5 separate regions of the Homo sapiens genome follow, and all the other regions are linked to region 1. The links are contacts of gene promoters, found by promoter capture Hi-C in blood cells and fetal thymus (Javierre and others, 2016). All regions are on one chromosome and are shown on one strand. The core of a region is centred on a gene start or on the middle of the fragment in contact, and the rest is flanking DNA. Distances in the headings are between cores, read along the strand shown. Region 1 holds the start of RPF1 (ribosome production factor 1 homolog). Region 2 has its middle 31 kb from the start of SSX2IP. Region 3 has its middle 57 kb from the start of SAMD13. Region 4 has its middle 5.5 kb from the start of LINC01555. Region 5 has its middle 2.9 kb from the start of LINC01461.

Region 1 (2,801 bases), core at 125-2,624:
GGAATCACTTCTCAACCACCTACACAAGACTTACCCTGGTTCAGGCCACTATCATTTCTTCCCTTCTTCCACACACCCTGCCCCTGCATAGGCTCTTCTCAAAAGAAGATTCTGAATGACGCTTTTACTTTATTTTTATTTATTTTTTTGAGAGGGTCTCACCCTCTCACCCAGGCTGGAATGCAGTGGCACCAACATGGCTCATTGCAACCTAGCCTTCCAGGCTCAATGGATCCTACTGCCTCAGCCTCCTGAGTAGCTGGGACCACAGATGTACACCATGCCCAAACAGATATATATATTTTTTTACTTTTTGTAGACATGGGGTCTCACAGTGTTGCCAAAGCTGGTCTTGAACTCCCAGGCTCAAGCAATCCTCCTGCCTTGGCCTCCCAAAGTGCTAAAATTACAGGCATGGGCCACTGCACCAGCCTGATACTTTTAAGATGTTAAGATCATACCATTCTTTTCCTCAAAATTCTATAAGAGATCTTCATCTCACATAAAATAAAAGCCAAAGTCCTTACAAAACTCTACACCACCTGTCCAATCTCAACACTTCTTGCCTTTCCTGGCTTGCTACTGACTAGGAGCATTGGAGCTGGCTGTTTGCTTTGCCAGGACAGCTTTTCTCCTTGATAACCAGCTTTTCTCAGATTAACAGCTCTTCCCTCAGATAACTAGTTTAGCCCATTACCTCCTTCAAACCTTGGCTCAATGTAACGTTTTCAATGAAGCCTACTCTGAGAATCCTATTTAAAATTGCAACGTACTTTGGGAGTCCAGGGCGGACAGATCACCTGAAATCAAGAGTACAAGACCAGCCTGGCCAACATGGTGAAACTCCATCTCTGCAAAAATACAAAAATTAGCCGGGCATGGTGGCACGTGTTTGTAGTCCCAGCTACTCAGGAGGAGGAGTTTGCAGTGATCGGAGATCGTGCCACTGCACTCCAGCCTGGGCATTAAAGCAAGGCTCCGTCTCAAAAAGATGAATGTCTCTTCATCTTCTTTTATCCTGTTCTATTTTTTTTCCATACCATGTCTTACTCTGTAGCTCACCATAATTTATTTGTATGCTCATTTTAGGTTTCCCTCAAGTAAAACGTAAACTAATCCAGGCACGGTTTTTGTTGTTGTTCCATTATTTTGAGGGCTGGGCACATAGATGCGCAAGGAGTGCCCAAACTCATCATCTCACTCTTTATACAGCTGGGCAAACTGCCTAAAGTTTCCTCAAGCCTCAGCTTTACTATTTTCTTGAATGGCTAAAACTCACAAAACACATCTAGCGTCAAAAACTTTGCGACCCCGGAAGTAAAAGGTTAAGGAAGGGGGTCACAGGAGAAGGCTATTTCCGTTTCCGTACGGAAGCAAAGGAGCCAAGACCATGGCGAAAGCCGGGGATAAGAGCAGCAGCAGCGGGAAGAAAAGTCTAAAACGGAAAGCCGCTGCCGAAGAACTTCAGGAGGCTGCAGGCGCTGGGGATGGGGCGACGGAAAACGGGGTCCAACCCCCGAAAGCGGCTGCCTTTCCGCCAGGCTTTAGCATTTCGGAGATTAAAAACAAACAGCGGCGACACTTAATGTTCACGCGGTGGAAACAGCAGCAGCGGAAGGTACGCGAGAGGCGGGGGCTGCCGGGCGCTTGCGCGTTGTTCCTGACGCTTAGGGCGGTCGCGGGGCGCACATCTGTGGTTGTCTGCTGGTCTCAAAAGTGTTCTCTGTGGCTCCGTGGGAAGGGTGGCGTCGCGGCCCACGTGTTCTGGTCCCCTCGCCCTAGTTTGGAGACTCTAGGTTCAGCCTTTTGCCTGAGCGTCAAGGTGGAAGATTATCTTGATAGGCTCTTTCCTGGGACGCTAGATTCACAAGGAAAGCTGTAAGGCCAGTTGGCTTAGTAGTGAAAACTACGCCCTCCTGGCCCAGAAGGCAAAAGTCTCAGCCCTTTGGTCCGTCTAGGTAGCGTTGGTTAATTTGCAGAATCTGAAATGGAGGCAATACGTAATAAATCCAAAATACTGCTTCTCTGATTCCTGCAGGAGCTCCTTACCGAAATTAGTACTGTAAAGTTTCTGGTAATTGTATTTGTTCTTTTCAGCTTTATCCTTATACGTTTCTGGTAGGTAAACAAACTGAAACGTAAAGAGGTTTAAACGACTTGTCAAGGTCGCAGTGCTCATTTCTGGTTAAATTGCAATTGGAAGAAAACGTTTGCTTATTCTTGCACATCGTAGAAGTTCACACAATATTATTATTATGTGTCTGCCTCCTCTTACTGGCCCTTCTGAGGCCCGGGACTGGTTCTTACTCATGTTCAGTGTCAAGGTGCTGTTTCAATACATACAAGGGGCGTTTAACTCATTCTGGTATGCACGTATTGGGGAGGGATGTCCTGGAAGACTTATTGGAGCTATGATTTCTAATCTGAAACCTGGTGGATTGAGGATCAGTAGGTGCTGGGGAAAAAAGAATATTTTTTATTTTGTCAAGCATTCTATCTAGAAATCTCCAGAAGAATATATAGATTGACAATACAAATACAGATAATCTTAAGCCACCTTGCAAGCTCTTACTAAATTTTAGAAGTATATTTTGATTATAAAATATGTGAATAACTGGTGATGGTTTTATGGAAAACAACCTGAAAACTCAGCTCCCATTCCTATTTTTAGTGCTTTTCAAGAGAAGCAAGCAGCATAACCATGGTCGTCTTTAGGATGCCACCAGTTAGGCAAAACAAAACACAGTGGAAACCATCACATACTTTAATTAATTTGAGGCTTTATGGAAAAAGGTTAAGCT
Region 2 (2,801 bases), core at 145-2,644, 240 kb after region 1:
CTTTGAGTTTTAGTTGAAGCGTTCAAGTTTTCAGTAAAGTCCCCCCTCCCTCCATTCGTGCCTTTTTAAAAGACGAAATAGAAGCTAGTGAAAGTAAATTTTAATGCGTTTAGTTCTGGATTGTCCCATCCTGCTGCACATTTGGATCTCATGTCATGCTAGGAGTTGCATTCATTTTTCCATTCATGCATTCACTAAATATTTAGTGAGTGTGTGTTAGGACTGTGCTGAGAACTCACAGTCACAACTAAGCATGTGGCAGTTTGCTTCTTCTTAAATATATTTTGGGCTTGTTTCCCAATCCAACTTGACCAGTCTATGGAAACAAATTTGAAAAACCATTAAACTATTAAATGCTCTGGCCAGAAACATTAATTATTACGGGCTAAGAAATGTGTCATCAGAAAACATGTGATTAAGAAAAAAAAGCATTAATAGTGGCTTTCAGCCGAACAGGCAGAGAGTGGAATGAAAAGGCCTTTTATTAATGTGTAACTGTGCGAATGAAGCACGGTGGTGAGAGTGCTTTGTGCCATCTGAGTATCAGGTTAAATGCCACTGCATTATTACTGGTCTAATGAATTTTAAAAGTATCATTCTAAAGCAAATCTAGTGAGCAACAAAGATAAGGAAATTCTGCTGCCACAGCTGAAAACATTGCCACCACCAAGGCACTTTCTAAACCAGCATATGCTCAGAATGGATTACACTTTGCACCCATTGGAAACTCCCTCCTCAAAACAAACATCTCTTTGAACTTGCAGTTCTTAACCCAAGTTAAAGACTAAGAAAAAAAGCACTAATTGTAATCTAACAGTTCAGGGACCAAAAGGCCAGGTGTTCGCCTTAGTTCACAGTGTCATGCATAGTTCACTGAAAGTTAACTATTCGATGTTACATTTTTTTCTTACATATCCTGTATTTTTTCCTCCAAAATCAAAAGCTGAAACTCTCTTTGTTAAATTTCTATTAATTAGTAATAATTATGGGGCCTACTGCCAGCTGAATCAGATCATTGGCTAAAAAGAAAGGTTCCCTTATAGAAGTTGCTGGGTTGTTTTATTATTTATAGAATAGTTAAGGGGTCAAAGCTATTTCCATATGAAATCTAAATAAAGTGGGTGTTCAGATGAGATCCCATCTGGAGATTAGTGACTTTGAAAACGCAATATATAAAAGAGAAATAAGAAGAAATATCCTTTCTCAAATACTTAACCAGCAGTTACAGTATAAGGATGAACACTTCTATTTAAATCACATTTTGTGATAAAAGCCATGTCTGTGCAAATCTACATGGGAAGTGGTAAAAATGAAGACAGAAACAGTTTCTTCAACTAAGAGCCATAAAATACCTCACTATGGTATTTGTAAGTTATCAGGAACCATGACTCAGTCTGCACCAATAGAAACCAGACTTTCTGATAGAAGAGAGGTTTGCTGACTCAGAGTCTTCTTGTCTCCCTCAAATTAGGCCCTCTGCCTCAAAGTCCCAGGGCTTCATCTACAGATCAAACTGGTAATTCTTAGGTAACACTGAACAAAGGCTTAGTAATAAAGGGTGAGCTAATTATAGCCTCAAATCCAATGCACGTTATTTGACAAAGGATATTGAAGGATAGTAGGTAGCGCAGAGGGTCAGTAGTGGAGGCTATCCTTGTAGAGTCAGAAGCAAGGCTCAAACCACATGATAGGGGCTACTCTGGAGAAGACCTCATAGCTCATACTAATAGGGATAGGACTAGATGCCAAGAACTCTGCCGTGACTGCTCTTTAAACATGGGATGTTTCCAACCCCACCTTCACCAATAGATCCTTTCTTCACTGTACCTACATTTCATTTTACTCACTTCTAAATAAGAGGTATGCACAGTGTGAACCCCAAATATCTGAGGTAGGTCTCAGTCAATTTTAGGAAGTTTATTTACCAAGGTTCAGAATGCGCCCATGACACAGCCTCAGGAGATCCTGACAACATGTGCCCAAGGTCGGGGCACAGCTTGGTTTTACACATTTTAGGGAGACATGAGACATCAATCAATATATGTAAGATGTACATTGGTTCAGACCAGAAAGGTGGGAAAATCGAAGTGGGGAGGGGGCTTCCAGGTCATAGGTAGATAAGAGACAAATGGTTGCATTCTTTTGAGTTTCTGATTAGCCTCTTCAAAGGAAGCAATCAGATATGTGTTTATCTCAGTGAGCAGAAGGGATGACTTTTGAGTTCTGTCTGTCTTTTGTCAGCAAGGAAGTTCCTTGTGAACTAATTGTGAGGGAGGTCTGTAGCTTTTTTATCTTAGTAGCTATCTTTATTAGGGTTAGAATGGGAGGCAGGTTTGCCCTAAGCAGTTCCAGCTTGACTCTTCCCTTTGGCTTAGTGATTTTGGGGTCCCAAGATTTATTTTCCTTTCATAGCAGATAGGGCTGAATCAGGGTCACATGCCTGTACCCTAGCTGCAAGGAAGAATAATTTGAGGAAGAGGAAATCAGTATGGAAATTCTACAAACAGTGAGTGAAAGGATGCTAGGTGATCACAAACCTGAATAATGCTGACTTTAGTCTACCCCTTGACTGTTCAAAGGTAATATTCAGCTCTCCTTCTATACCAGCATTTCCCAACTCTTCATTTTAAGAGCCAAGAACATGCTCCTCTTCTTTATGTCATACCCTTTTCCTAGCAAGAGTCAGGATTTGATCACAATTACTTCCCCCAATTCATACTCCATTATCCCCTCTTCTCTTGCCACCATTAAATAACCACATGGCTCTCTGTTTTTGTGGGGTTGATAATTCCTCATTGAAA
Region 3 (2,801 bases), core at 146-2,645, 230 kb before region 1:
CACAAAGCAGACACCTTTAAATATCAAAAAGAAAAATTATAGAAAACCAAATGAAGAATGTAGTAATATAGAAGCAGTGATGTAAAGCTTGTGGTAAACTCTGAATCTGTCTTAATGTAGTTCTAATTATAAGCACCTATGATGATTACAATCATAGAACTGAATGTAAATGTTTTAAACCTTGGCAAACTTAGAATAATATAACTAACAAAGTTGGAAGGTAGAGAAAGAAAGAAGTGAGAGAAGGTAGAAAACTTCTAACATCCATACATTTTATAGCAGGATGTCAATTAATGGAGTCTAAAATTGAAGTGGATTAAATAAGATAATAACTCTAACCTCTCAATTTTTTCTTTATGGTTTTGTAATTTTTTTGTGAGGAAGGAACATATATAAACAGTTTTCATTTTCCCTTCAACTTCTTTTCCTTGCGTTAAATTTATTTTCATTTCAGTTTTTTCTAGTGAATTAGATTTTGTAATATAGACAAAATTAAACTGAACACTTTATATTAAAAAGTATAAGCCAGGCGCCAGTGGCTCACGCCTGTAATCCCAGCAGGTTGGGAAGCCAAGGCGGGTGGATCACAAGGCCAAGAGATCGAGACCATCCTGGCCAACACTGTGAAACCCTGTCTCTACTAAAAATACAAAAATTAGCTGGGCTTGGTGGTGTGCACCTGTAGTCCCAGCTACTCAAGAGGCTGAGGCAGGAGAATCACTTGTACCTGGGAAGTGGATGTTGCAGTGAGCTGAGACCACGCCACTGCACTCCAGCCTGGGCAACAGTGTGAGACTCTGTCTCAAAAAAAAAAAGTATAATACAATTTTATAAAATCAGTGCTATCTGGAAGAGCAGCAGTGGCGACCGGAGTGGTAGGAGCAGCAATTTATCCGTGTGCAGCCCCAAACTGGAAAGAAGATGCTAATTAAAGTGAAGACACTAACTGGAAAGGAGACTGAGATTGATATTGAACCTACAGACAAGGTGGAGTGAATCAAGGAGCATGTGGAGGAGAAAGAGGGAATCCCTCCACAACAGCAGAGGCTCATCTACAGTGGCAAACATGAATGATGAGAAGACAGCAGCTGATTACAAGATTTTAGGTGGTTCAGTCCTTCACCTGGTGTTGGCTCTGAGAGGAGGAGGTGGTCTTAGGCAGTGATGGACCCTCCATTTTACCTCCCTACCCTGTCGCTCGTAATGAGGCATCATATATCCTCTCACTCTCTGGGACACCAGAGCCACTGCCCCCTCCCTTGGATGCCCAGTAATGTATGTCTACTGGTGGGAGACTGTGAGGACACCAGGATTCAGTATTCCTGGCCCAGAGGGCCCTTGCTGACTATTGGATGTTAGTTTGGAGTCCTGTGTGCTTCTCTCTCTTATGGCTGTGTCCCTGGTTGTCAATAAAATATTTCCTGGCCTCCTGGAAAAAAAAAAAAAATTAGTGCTATCTAGTTAGGTACCTCTCTACCTCTCTACCCTTCTGTCTCAATATGTGCACCGAGAATAGTGTAATAATGTTATCAATGGTATGAGATTTGAGGTTATTTCCTAATTCTTCCCTTATACCTTGTTGAGTTGTTTGCATTCTTTGTAATGATAAAGTAATTAATCAAAGATAAAAATAAACACGCCCAATAACAGAGCATTGATTTAATACATTTTTTTTAGATCATCAATCTTGTAAGAGTCCTACTCTTAACAAGCCATTTTCACCAGAGTTCAGTCTTAAGAAATCTTGATTCTTTAATTTCTTTTTTTTTTTTTTTTTTTTTTTTTGAGACAGAGTCTCGCTCTGTCACCCAGGCTGGAGTGCAGTGGTACAATTTCGGCTCACTGCAACCTCGTACTCCCAGGATCAATTGATTCTCCTGCCTCAGCCTCCCAAGTAGCTGGGATTACAGGCATATGCCAACACTCCTGGCTAATTTTTTTGTATTTTTAATAGAGATGGGGTTTCACCATGTTGGCCAGGCTGGTTTCGAACTCCTGACCTCAGGTGATCCATCCTCCTCAGCGTCCCTAAATGCTAAGGTTGCAAGCGTGAGCCACCGCACCCAGCCTGATCCTTTAATTTCAAGATGGAAAATGTGATACTACATCATCAATATGCTTTTGTGCAAGCCACCAGATGTCACTAAAATGGCTTCTCTAGCATTATTATTGCCATGAAGAAATGTTTCCTCTCATTCTTCATATCTCAAACTCGTGAGAACCCTTTCTTTTAACAGCCAGACCACCGTCATGTGAGGGAAAAAAAAAACCCTCTTATCTTCACTGCCAATTTCTTCACCACAATATGCTAAAAACACGTAATCAACACAACCAACTTTTTATTAAAGTTTTTACTATTTTTTAAATAGTGAGTCAAAGTCAGGAAGCACATGGCTGAGTTGGACTGTTTTCTGTCAATAAATCATGTGGTTAATTGGACATCCAAAAAAAAGCCTCTTTTATTCAAGTAGCAATGTCCTTCTTTGTCACTTACTTATCTGTTGATAACCTTATTCCTGTTTATACCATGGTTCAGAAAATAATCACTAACCAAACAGAAGTTTTTTTCCATGTGATAAAAAGCTGCTGAGTGTTTTTCCTTCATATATCACCAGCTCCTAAAATCCAATTCAGAATCTACTCATCAGCCATCTTACCTAGCTTTAAGGTAAAAATACATTGCTCTAGATTATATGCCACTGATAAGCTTTTTCTAATTTTGCTTTCCCTCCATAGATATCACTTGTCAGTTATTTGGGACTGGTTTTACAGATTTCCTAATAATAGTGTGTCCAGTACTG
Region 4 (2,801 bases), core at 100-2,599, 160 kb after region 1:
GTGTTTCTCACTAACAGAATCACACATAAGCAAACACAAATTTTGCATTATGCTCAAATTGTTCCCTAATATGTCAACTGCATTGAGACAAACTTGTCCTTTTTTACATGGTGTTTATGAGTGTTATAGGAAAGCTGACTATATTAGGTTAGACCACAACTTGATTCCATCTTTTAGAAACTATACCTGAGGCATGAATTAAAGGAAGAAGCTTTGTAGGGATTAGGGTTTGTGAACCCAAAAATATCTGAGATAGGTATCAATTTAGAAAGTTTATTTTGCCAAAGTTAAGGACAGGCCCATGACATAGCTTCAGGAGGTCCTGATGACATGTGCCCAAAGTGGTCTGGGTGTGACTTGCTTTTACACTTTTTAAGAAGACATAATACATTCAATCAATACCTGTAAGATGTACATTGGTTCAATCTGGAAAGGTGGGACAACTTGAAGCAGTGGCTTCCAGGTTAGAGGTAGATTTAAAAATTTTCTGATTGGCAATTTGTTGAATGAGTTAGTTTATTTTATTCTATTTTATTTTATTTTTGAGACGGAGTCTCTCTGTCACCCAGGCTGGAGTGCAATGGCGCGATCTCAGCTCACTGCAACGTCCGCCTCCTGGGTTCAAGCGATTCTCCTGCCTCAGCCTCCTGAGTAGCTGAGATTACAGGCACGCAACACCATGCCCAGCTAATTTTTGTATTTTTTTTAGTAGAGATGGAGTTTCACCATGTTGGTCAGGCTGGTCTCAAACTCCTGACATCGTGATCCACCCACCTCAGCCTCCCGAAGTGCTAGGATTACAGGCGTGAGCCACCACGCCTAGCCTGAATGAGTTATTATCTAAAGACTTGGAATCAGTACAAAGAAATGTATGGGTTATGATGATAAGCGGCTGTGGAAACCAAAGTTTTATCATAGAGCCTCCAGGTAACAGCCTTCAGGGAGCATAGGTTGTAAATGTCTCTTATAAGACTTAAGGTCTGTGTTGATATTAATGCTGGTTAACTTTTCCTGAATTCCAAGAGGAAGGAGGGTATAATCAGGCATGTCTCACCCTTCCTTCCCATCGTGGCCTGAACTAGTTTTTCAGGTTAACTTTGGAATGCCCTTGGCTGAGAGAAGGGACCCAAATAGTTGGGGGGCCTTAGGATTTTATTTTGGGTTTACAGGTTCAACAATCAAAACTCAAGTCAGAGTTATGCTTACTTGGACAGGGCTTCCATTATACACAGGGTGATCATTTGTCCCAATTTCCACTGTGGTACAGGCCTAATCATGAATAGCTCCCCATTTCACTATCAAAAGTTTGAGTCAACAGGAATGTGCACCTCCAGATTTTGGGAAACCACACCACAAGCAACTGTGTCTCTGATGTACACCCCTTTCTGGCCCTCACTGCCAAGGCCAGAACCTGCCTCTGAGATTTACCATAGTCTTTTCGTTCCTTATCAAAGAATTTCAATTAAAAGCATTTATGAGGCCAGGCGTGGCAGCACATGCCTGTAATCCCAGCACTTTGGGAGGCTGAGGCAGGCAGATCACTTGAGGTCAGGAGTTTGAGACCAGCCTTGCCAACATGGAGAAACCCTGTATCTACTAAAAATACAAAAATTAGCTGGGCATGGTGGTGCATGCATGAAATCCCAGTTACTTGGGAGGCTGAGGCAGAAGAATTGCTTGAACACCGGAGGCAGAGGTTGCAGTAAGCTGAGATCACGCCGCTGCACTCCAGCCTGGGCAACAGAGTAAGACTCTGTCTCAACAACAACAAAAAGCATTTATGAGTTGTTTCCTCAGATATTTGCCCTTGATAAAAATGAAGACAAGTGCTTTGGAAATAAAAAGGCAATGTGATTTTTAAAATTCCAGTTAAAATTTTTCATGGTTTAAGATCAAAATAGCTTCTTTAGAACATATGTACCAAGGCTTTGTGTGGCTAGTTGTTGGATTTCTAGTTTTCTTTGGGGCATTAACACAGAATCTGAAAAACTATTTGTTTGGAAAAGTTTAATTTCACTGAGATCTAATTTATAGAGATTTTCCTTATTTATTTATTTTTTATTTATTTATTTTTGAGACGAAGTCTTGCTCTTGTCCCCCAGGCTGGAGTACAATGGCGTGATCTAGGCTCACTGCAACCTACCCCTCCCGGGTTCAAGCAATTCTTCTGCCTCAGCCTCCCGAGTTGCTGGGATTACAGGCGCCTGCCACCACGCCCGGCTAATTTTTGTATTTTTAGTAGAGATGGGGTTTCACCATGTTGGCCAGGCTGGTTTCAAACTCCTGACCTCAGGTGATCTGCCTGCATTGGTCTCTCAAAGTGTTGGGATTACAGCCGTGAGCCACCACACCCAGCCTTCCTTATTATTTAATACCTCTTTGCTTAAAAGGAATAACATTACAAAACCAAATCAACTAGTTATTAAGGTAAAAGATTTTCAAGATAAAAGAAACTAAAAGTGGCTAGAAATTAAATTGATATTCCACAAAAGCTTTATACTATTGGGTGACTATTTGAAAATTGCATTTCGTTGAGCCTCTTCACTAATTAAAAATGTGAAATACAAGTTTAGTTTGAAATAATAGTTCTGGGCTGAGAATTACAGAAGAAAAAAATCTCAAGGTAGGGTAAATAAATTACAGCATGTTTTAGTCAAGTAAAAACTATACTTACAGGTTAACAAAACCAGCCATAGTAGTCATGGCTAAGCACTAGCAGTCTAATCCTAGGGAACTCAGCTGTCTGATCCTATGCCTGGCTGGGATGAACAATTGACCACCTCGGTTTAGACATCATACAT
Region 5 (2,801 bases), core at 162-2,661, 140 kb after region 1:
CTTCACTGTTTACATGTAGCATCCTAGGCTCTGCTTCTATCTCTCTCTCGCTCTCTCTCTTTCTCTCTTTCTCTTTCTCTCTCTCTCTCTTTCTCTCTCTCTCTCTCTCCCCTTCTTTTCTCCCTGTCTGGTCATCTGCAGCCTGATAGAGGCTGAGGCAGAGAGAAGAGCCTGTAGGAAAAAAACCATCTTTGGTGGTGATGATGATGTGGTGTGTGGAGATACAAAGTCAAATTCTCCAATGTTTCTATCCCCATGAAATGAAGTCTCTAGTGAGATCAACATTGCTCAGCAATGCTTAGTAGAGTATATTTTCCTGTGTGGAAGCATGAGGAAGGGGTGCATTCCCCTTCTGCTTGGTAAAAATAAAGGCATCAGGAAGTATTGGGTTGGTGTAAACGTAATTGCAGTTTTTGCCATTAAAAGTAGTGACCAAAACCGCAATTAATTTTACACCAACCTAATACAAGCCAGCACCTGGGTGACACTGGTAAGACTGGTGGACCATGCCTGGTCTGGCCAGTTTGCGTTTTTAATAGAGTCAGCGAGTGGGGTAGAAAGTCTGCAGTATTCAGTTAAAGGCCCAAGTTCTTCTTAGTCTGCTTATTAGCTATGTGCTTCTGAGTAAATTACCTAACCTCGCTTAAGCTTAGTTTGCTCATCCCAAAAGGAAATAAAAATATTACCTGACAGTTATGTTTCCTGATTGCTGTGGGATTCAAATGAGCTAGAAGGAGGGAAGTTGTTGTCTTGAAGCAGCATTAGTAGATTTTCTAAACTTGGTAGCATTACACCTCCTTACATTTGATTCTCCCAAGCCTGCTGGGTAGCTTGATGGAGGAAACATGACAGAACTTGACTGCACGTAGTGGCAGTAACTCACACTTGCCCAGATTTTGAACTGGAATCATCTTTATTGCAGTTGAAAAACTAGGCTTAGAGAGTTTGAACAACTTGCCCAAAGGAACATATCTTGGCCATGAAAGGGCCAGTACCAGAATGTAGCACCTAAGACTTTTAGATGGTACTTCCACCATCTCCAGTAGAAGATGGGAAAGGAGTGTTCCTTGGGATTGCCCAGGGCATGACTGTCCCCTTGCAAGGGACACAGAGAAATGGGTGGAAGATGTCAGATTCTTAAGTGTTCACTAGTGGGAGGGTGAGCCCATTATTCTCTATGCACTTAGAATCTTTTTCTCTTTAATAATGTTCTTCACATGCCATAACAAAGCTGAATATGCACTTAGAAGTCTTCTGAAAATTTTATAGAGTGAAATTTCAAAATAGACAACTTAATAGGCTGCTTTAATGTTAAATGAGTCACTTAAGATACAAGTTTTCTCTACATTTCTCAGAACTGGTGGGATGATTATCTCTATCAGGGACTGTTTAGAGAGAGATACTCTGACCTGAACCGCTGTAACTATTAATTGACCAGTTTGATGCGCAACACTTTCTGGTGCAGCTTTATTTACCAGTTTCAAAGACTAAGCTCTGAGCTGAGTGGGGACACAGAAGCAGCTGGGTACTTATACTTGACCCCATAGAAGATGGTTATCTAATTCTGACCTGGCTAAGCAACCAGTATGAATTTTTCCATTAAGTCACATAGTTTACATCCTGCCTTGTTCTTTTTTTGGGGGGTGGGGGGTGGGGGGGCGGTGGTTTCCCTCTTGTTGCCCAGGCTGGAGGGCAATGGCGCAATCTCGGCTCACCACAACCTCCGCCTCCCAGGTTCAAGCAATTCTCCTGCCTCAGCCTCCTGAGTAGCTGGGATTACAGGCACCCACCACTACACCTGGCTAAGTTTTTATTTTTAGCAGAGACAGGGTTTCTCCATGTTGGTCAGGCTGATCTCAAACTCCCGACCTCAGGTGATCTGCCTGCCTTGGCCTCCCAAAGAGTTGGGATTACAGGCGTGAGCCACCGTGCCCAGCCACATCTTGCCTTATTCTTATTTGTGCATTTTTTGGCTGTTTAAAAAGTATACACTCAAACATAAGAGAATTGCAACCCTCTTGTTACCCTAATTTGGCCATGTTATCCTAAAGGGCAAGGGCAGAGTCACCCCTTCTAGGATCAAACTGGACTGCAAGGACACCTATCCTCTGCCCCCACCCCCCCACACCCAAATTTCTCTTGGGATACACAATGAGTAAAGAAAGATAGGCCCTCCAAGCTTGAAAATAAGAAGCAGGAACATTTAGAGATGACTTTTGAGGACAGGATAAGGTGAAATACCTCACCTAAAGTCAGAACTTTCACATTAGGATTTATTCGTCTCTTTTGCCCAGGTGCAGAGGATGATAAACAGCTTTCTCACTGCCCGTGCTAAGTGCTCATTGTGTTCAGGGGTGAGTCTTGCAGTCTGTGGCTCCTGTGACTGTGAGCACTGCTCAAGGACCAGTTTGGACACCCAGCCACCGGGAATAGAGCTCAAGCCACCATGCAGTTAATCGCTGTAGCTGAACCAATGTGTCCAGACAAAATGAACTATCTAAGATGATGTTCATGTGCACACAGGCACACACCATGCTGTCCCTGAGGGATAACCCTTTTGCTGTAGGCTTCTTTGAGAACCCCTTTTCCGAGCTACCTTTCTCACTGCAGTTGGTGACAGTGGGGGCACAAGGACATCATGCACATGATCCTGTCCTCAGGGAGAGAAGAAAATGAGGCTCCTAGAGCAAGCCCCGCCAAACTGAGCCAGTGCTAGCTCCGTTTACCCAGATATTAAGTTAAGCCAATTATATAGTACAATAATTCATCTTTTGAAAATTCACTCTCAGCCTTTGGGGAGC

The links. The method cuts DNA at HindIII sites, captures the fragments that hold promoters and counts their contacts. A CHiCAGO score of 5 or more calls a contact.
Region 2: a fragment that was not itself captured here is called in contact with the fragment with the promoter of RPF1 in region 1 in 2 of 17 cell types (megakaryocytes and fetal thymus); the score reaches 5.7 in megakaryocytes.
Region 3: a contact is called between a fragment that was not itself captured here and the fragment with the promoter of RPF1 in region 1, in 1 of 17 cell types (megakaryocytes). The highest score is 5.9, in megakaryocytes.
Region 4: a contact is called between a fragment that was not itself captured here and the fragment with the promoter of RPF1 in region 1, in 3 of 17 cell types (neutrophils, megakaryocytes and M1 macrophages). The highest score is 6.7, in neutrophils.
Region 5: a contact is called between a fragment that was not itself captured here and the fragment with the promoter of RPF1 in region 1, in 17 of 17 cell types (neutrophils, megakaryocytes, naive B cells and 14 more). The highest score is 16.3, in neutrophils.

What each region holds. Positions count from the first base shown.
Region 1 is chr1:84,477,892-84,480,692 of GRCh38, forward strand. RPF1 (ribosome production factor 1 homolog) reads left to right here and starts at 1,375. Exons shown (of 9, transcript NM_025065.7): 1 at 1,375-1,618. The coding sequence starts at 1,391. RefSeq lists enhancers at 1,036-1,596, 1,792-1,951. The HindIII fragment of the contact is 6,088 bases long and covers 1-2,801 here.
Region 2 is chr1:84,719,900-84,722,700 of GRCh38, forward strand. No RefSeq gene overlaps it. Among named protein-coding and RNA genes, the nearest start is that of SSX2IP, 31 kb to the left of the region's middle. The HindIII fragment of the contact is 2,886 bases long and covers 1-2,801 here.
Region 3 is chr1:84,243,413-84,246,213 of GRCh38, forward strand. It overlaps the pseudogene NEDD8P1. Among named protein-coding and RNA genes, the nearest start is that of SAMD13, 57 kb to the right of the region's middle. The HindIII fragment of the contact is 2,620 bases long and covers 86-2,705 here.
Region 4 is chr1:84,639,101-84,641,901 of GRCh38, forward strand. No RefSeq gene overlaps it. Among named protein-coding and RNA genes, the nearest start is that of LINC01555, 5.5 kb to the left of the region's middle. The HindIII fragment of the contact is 2,281 bases long and covers 210-2,490 here.
Region 5 is chr1:84,622,545-84,625,345 of GRCh38, forward strand. No RefSeq gene overlaps it. Among named protein-coding and RNA genes, the nearest start is that of LINC01461, 2.9 kb to the left of the region's middle. The HindIII fragment of the contact is 1,531 bases long and covers 647-2,177 here.